Regions from separate parts of the Homo sapiens genome. Here region 2 is linked to region 1. The links are contacts of gene promoters, found by promoter capture Hi-C in blood cells and fetal thymus (Javierre and others, 2016). All regions are on one chromosome and are shown on one strand. The core of a region is centred on a gene start or on the middle of the fragment in contact, and the rest is flanking DNA. Distances in the headings are between cores, read along the strand shown. Region 1 holds the start of DRC5 (dynein regulatory complex subunit 5). Region 2 holds the start of MRPS18A (mitochondrial ribosomal protein S18A).

Region 1 (2,728 bases), core at 87-2,586:
CTTCCGCAAGGCTGGACCACTGCCTGCATCCTTTGGAGGGTGCAAGGAGCCCAACAGAGTGCTGCAGAGTGGTGCTCTCCTGCCCCTGGCATATTCCCTCCACAGGAAGTCTCAGGTCTTCTCCATCCTTCCTCAGGTCCCCAGCTAAATCTAACCATTCTGGGTAGGAGCTCCTTCCACCTGCCCTAATGGGAACACGAGGAAGATGCTGTAGGTTTGCATTCTCACCTTCTTGTGCATCACAGTTCTGGTCCTCAACTGTCCCCTCCTCCCTTCCTCTTAGTGGAGAAGTGGAGACACCCGGCCCTCTTTGGGCAGACAGCGCCTCTGTGCCCGGGACACTTCCCCAGGAGCTGGCTTTGCACCCACTGCTCTGACTGCCTTCTCTGCCTTCTCAGCCGCTCCCACCCCAGATCCCCTCAGGAGAGCCCTCCTCTGTTCTCAGGGCTCTGGGCTTTTGTCTACAGCCACCTCCATATCCTTCATGCCCACCATGTCTTACTTTGGGGTAAGTCACTCCCAAGTTGGGAATTCCACTTGTGGAAGGGCAAAAAACTTTCTCCAACTGAGCCTCGGCCCGTGTGCTTGGACTTGGGCTGGGTGAAACCGCCAGTTCACTTACCACAGCCCCTGGGCTGGCCTCCTCCCAACTCCTGACCACTCAGGTCTGTTGTCTCAAAAGTGACTCCAGCGGCTCTGGAGTCTCCCACCCCTCCTCCCTACCTTCAGCTCAGACACCCCAGCAGAGAAGCTCAGCTCCAAAGGCCAGGAGTCCCTCCCCCATCCTACCTGGGGTGTAGAGGCGCTGGCTTCTCCTTGGTAACCCAGGGAAACCGGCAGTGCAGTGGGAGGTAGGGAGATGAGGAAGCTTCCGCACCCGCGGGAGGGATTACAGCCCTCGGGTGATGGGAACGGACGGCCTTTCGGAGAAGCCTAGGGCCCCAGGGCTTGGGACCGCTCTCCTCCACGCCCTACGGATGCCCCACTTTCCCCCTCTTCTTCCCAGTCCCTCCCCTCGCCTCACTCGGATCCCCAGCCCCGGGCCAGACGGTTTGCAGACAGTGACTGTGGTGGGGAGGAGGCGCGGGGCGTCCTCGCGTGGAGGGCGTGGGGTCTCCCGTGGGTACGGACCGGCGCTTCCCCGCCACGGAAAACGCAACCCAGGCAATGGCCGCCCGTGGGCTTCGGGCCGGTGTGGGCAGAGGACGCTAGAGGGGCTCCCGGGCCCAGCCGGCCAGAGGGGGCCCCGATAAGGGAGACCGGGGCTGGGTGTCCCCACTCCCGGAGGTCGCCTCACCCGCTCCGGGAGCCCCGGCGCTCGCCTCACGCAGAGTCCCGCGCGCCGGCGCAGGTCTTTGTCGTTGGGGACGCCCCGCGTTGCTAGGAGCGGGCCGGGCCGGGAGGACGAGCGCGCCGCTGCTTCCTCCGCTGCCGCTGCCGCTGCGCGCCAGGCACGCGGCTTACTCGCGCGCAGGGTGGCCAGGCCCGGCCTCGGGACGGTTCCGTGGAAGCGGCCGCTTTGCGGGTAGTGGGACTGTGGCCTTGCGCTATGCCCTGTGCTTCCGTGGGACGTGTCTAGGAACGGGTGGGCTTTCTGCGGGAGGCGGGGGTCGGGCAGGGCTGCTGGTCTGGAGTGCTTGTGCTCTCTTGGTAGCTTTTGTGTGGCAATGGATAGGGAGCTGGTCCAGGAAAAGCGTCTGTGGAAGAAGAGGAGGGTGGACGCACCTTCTCCAAGGCACCTGTAGAAGTCACTGGAACTCCCGTGAGGCCTCCTGTTGACCTTAGGCCCTGCGGGAGGGAGGGCACCTTCCACCTTTCCCCCAGCTGAAGGTCTGGTACCAGACGCAGGAAGGTTCCAGGCCAACACAGCGCTCCTTCACACAGTCCATGCCCTGTGCCAAACTCTCTTCCAGCCCTGGCGCGACAAGATGTGGTTGGGGCCCCAGATCTCCTGGAGGGCGAGAGGGACAGACCAGAGGGACGGCTAGTAAAAAAAAAGAAATTGGCCTTCAGGAAGGGAGAGGCAGCCAGGGTGGCGGGGCTTTCAAAGGGTAGCTTTGACTTCAGCTCTGCCGAGGACTACTAGTTGGTTACCCTGGATGAACATCTCGAAGCTCTGTTAACTCATCAATAAATCAGGGGTGCCAAAACTCATCTTGGCGCTCGCGGAGGAGCTTGAACCTGGGCCTGTGGTGAGCACTGCTAAACAGGCTACTGCCCCAGTGGCCAGGATGCTGCTTTGCAAGCAGTGAGGGGCCAGGCACCCGGGATTGGGTCCCTTCAAGCCCTCAGCAGTGCCTTACCAGCAAATCATCAGTGCCTTAATTAGAATGAGAAACTGCAGAAAATGATGCCAGGCGGGCCCACGCTGCTCGAATAATTTTTACTAGACAGAATTTGGTAGCCAGGGAGCCCTTGATTTGAAGATGGATCCCCTGAGGCCCTTTCCTTCATCTAGCAACAGAGATCTAGGAACAAAGGCAGAGGTCCAAAGTCTGGCTGTCTGAGGTGGACTCATTCTGGTAGGGAAGGAGGGCTTTCCTCCATCTCTGCTTCCTCCTGCTTTGAAGTGCCAATTTTCAGCTTCAGCTCAGGCTTGAGGCAGGTGCTGTACAACTTGTTTTAATAAGCATATTGTTTGTCTGACCCCGCTCTCCAGCCTCCTCACCTGCCCCTATCCCAGCTCACTGCTCAGTGGCACTGGCCACCTCACGGCCTCTGCATTGGC
Region 2 (2,728 bases), core at 170-2,669, 610 kb before region 1:
TTAGTGTCTTTATTAATGGGTCTACTAATGGATAAGTTAATCAGGCAATATCCAGACTTTTTTTTCTAGCAAATGCTCCACTTCCCTTACGGGCTAAATTCTTCAAACATACTTACTATTTCCATCTCTTCATCAACTATCTCTTTCATTTCTCCAAACTGGATTCCTTGTTTGCCACTCTATTGAAATTGCTGTTTGAAAGCTACAAAGAGACCTCTTCTGAGACAAATCCAATGGCCCCTTCATTAGGCCCTTTTTAGACTTTTCTGCTCCCTCTGACAACAATGATCACTCTTTTCCACTGGATACTTCTCAGCTTTCGTTAAAGGATATGCTGCCCAATACTATGCCAGATCCTCAAAAAACCCCACATCTCTTCTTTTGCACATCACTCATCCTTTCCTGCTTCCAGGAGTACACAAAGGAAGGCTATGTCCTAAAAGACCGTTTCACTCTCCGCCAGATTCCATCCTTTTGTGAGCCTGCTCAAGACACATCCTCTTTATGAAAACTTCCAACTGGGTTTGCCGTTTCCAGTAACTGAGTCTCCCTGTACTTCGTCACGTAAAAGGCTAACTTGCATTTATTGGAGTGTGTATATACATAATCTCATTAGAACCTAAGCTTTTCAGAAAAAGGGCTGTATTTTCTGTCTCCAGAATTCCTTCACAGCTTGAAGCATAGCACTTGGCATTCAGTAAACTCTCAGTTGATGCTCGAATCAGGCCGCTTTCCCAGATTAAGATTAATGAAAAGCTGAACTACCATCCTGCATTTGCCTATGTCTCAGCTATTCAATGGCCTTTCCACTTTGGCCTCCCCCTCACAGGGAGACTAGCGGCCCGGGGCAGAGAACGCCGCCATCAGATCACAGCATTTTGAGAAGGGAAAGTGGAAAGGGAGGCTCTGGGAGGGTACCCAGATGGCCTTCCTTCGTGATCCAGAGACTCTTTAATAAAAGAGACTGCGATTCGGAGAACATGGAAGGAAGAATTAACATGCAAACCCTTTCCGAAAACTTTTCTGAGCCCTAGGACAGGTTTAGTGTCTGCTCCTGCTAAGTAAGCAGGCTTTTCTCTCCGTCCTCCTCCGCCTTGTGAAGATACTCACAAGGGGCAGGAGATCAAGATAAGGCACCAGGGTGTGGAAGGGGCTTTTAAGCACGCCTGGGGAGCCGGTACCTCCAAAGTTTCAGAATCGGACGAAGGAAAGGTAGGAAGGAGCGCACCGGGGCTGGCGGAAGCAGTCTCTGCCGCTCTTCTTAATTTCAGGAGGTTGCTGGGACGCATGACTCACCTTCCCTGAACCCGCGAGCTGGAAGCCGAGACCAGCTGGTCGCTGCCGGGCCCGCTAGTAGCCCACGGAGAAGCCGCCCACAGCCGGACACCAGAGCCTTGAGGGCCGCCATCTTCAAAAACCTACCCTGACCTCTCGTCCATTTCCGCTTCCGGAACGTAGCGCCCGCCGCCGCAGTGGTGGGGCAGGAACGGCGGGGCGGGGTTGTAGTTCGCTTGCTCCTGTCACATCATTTCTCTCACCTGTCCGCTTTGGGATACGAAGAGAGGCTTCTGCGTCAAGCCTATATTTCGTGTTAAGGATCTAGGGGAGGTCTTCTAGCTCCTGTCTGCCAATGCCTACAAGTCTTCAAGGTTGCATTCGTTTCCTGGAAGGCTTCCTTAGGAAAATCGCACGCAACACCCCACCTATGTCTTTAAAGCTTTCTCTTCACTGCACGTGAGCTGTGGACTTTTAGCTTCTGTGACTGGGGCTAGACCTCTACGGGAGAGGCTGAAATGGTTAGGAACTCTGGCTCTGGAGTATCGGATATCAGGCAGACCTGGGATAGAATTGATACCCCCTTCTTCCCTGACCACTGCCACACTGATCTTTGATTTGCATATACTTAGACCTCTCTCTAGCCCCAGGGCCTTGATACAAGCTATTTCCTTTGTCTGCTCTTTAGCTGTCTAGTTAGCTTCTGCTTATTTCTTAGAGCTCACCTCAAACCTTATTTCCACAGTTTTGCTTGACTGCCCATTCTCAGCACCAGATGCCTCTCCATCTTAGTGCTTGGGACAATTTCAGTTTTATGTTTGTTTTGTATGTGTCTTCTCACCAGACTGTAAGCTCCATGAAGTCAGGAACATTGTTTTCTGTTGACTCGCACATCTCCAGCACTTAGAATAGTTCCTGACACATAATAAGAGTACAATATATACTTGTTGAATGAATGAGTAGAATCTATTTTATAGGGCCTAGGGGAGGACTAGACCCTGAAGATTAGATGTGATAAAACATAAGTGATCGGCCGGGTGTGGTGGCTCATGCCTGTAATCCCAGCACTTTGGGAGGCTGAGGCGGGTGGATTACCTGAGGTCAGGAGTTCAAGACCAGCCTGACCAACATGGTGAAACCCTATCTACTAAAAATACAAAAATTAGGTGGGTGTGGTGGCGGGCACCTGTAATCCCAGACACTTGGGAGGCTGAGGCAGGAGAATCGCTTGAACCCAGGAGGCGGAGGTTGCAGTGAGCCAAGATCACACCATTGCACTCCAGCCTGGGCGACAAGAGTGAAACTCCGTCTCAAAAACAAAACAAAACAAAACAAAACAAAACAAAAGGGCTCAATAAACATAAGCTAGTTAATAGAGCAGTTATGGAGATGACTCTTTTCACAAGTTGGACTCACTTGTGTTGTAAGGAAGCTTATGGTACCAAAGAGAAAA

What was found. The method cuts DNA at HindIII sites, captures the fragments that hold promoters and counts their contacts. A CHiCAGO score of 5 or more calls a contact.
Region 2: the fragment with the promoter of MRPS18A here is called in contact with the fragment with the promoter of DRC5 in region 1 in 4 of 17 cell types (megakaryocytes, activated CD4 T cells, M2 macrophages and 1 more); the score reaches 6.2 in megakaryocytes.

The regions. Positions count from the first base shown.
Region 1 is chr6:44,296,362-44,299,089 of GRCh38, forward strand. DRC5 (dynein regulatory complex subunit 5) reads right to left here and starts at 1,337. Exons shown (of 5, transcript NM_182539.4): 1 at 1,298-1,337. AARS2 (alanyl-tRNA synthetase 2, mitochondrial) reads right to left here. Exons shown (of 22, transcript NM_020745.4): 22 at 2,370-2,728. RefSeq lists a silencer at 1,251-1,330. The HindIII fragment of the contact is 7,791 bases long and covers 867-2,728 here.
Region 2 is chr6:43,686,372-43,689,099 of GRCh38, forward strand. It overlaps MRPS18A (mitochondrial ribosomal protein S18A), which reads right to left and starts at 1,420. Exons shown (of 6, transcript NM_018135.4): 1 at 1,297-1,420. The coding sequence starts at 1,408. LOC124901320 (a long non-coding RNA gene) reads left to right here and starts at 2,591. Exons shown (of 2, transcript XR_007059586.1): 1 at 2,591-2,728. RefSeq lists enhancers at 1,174-1,233, 1,179-1,790. The HindIII fragment of the contact is 1,093 bases long and covers 623-1,715 here.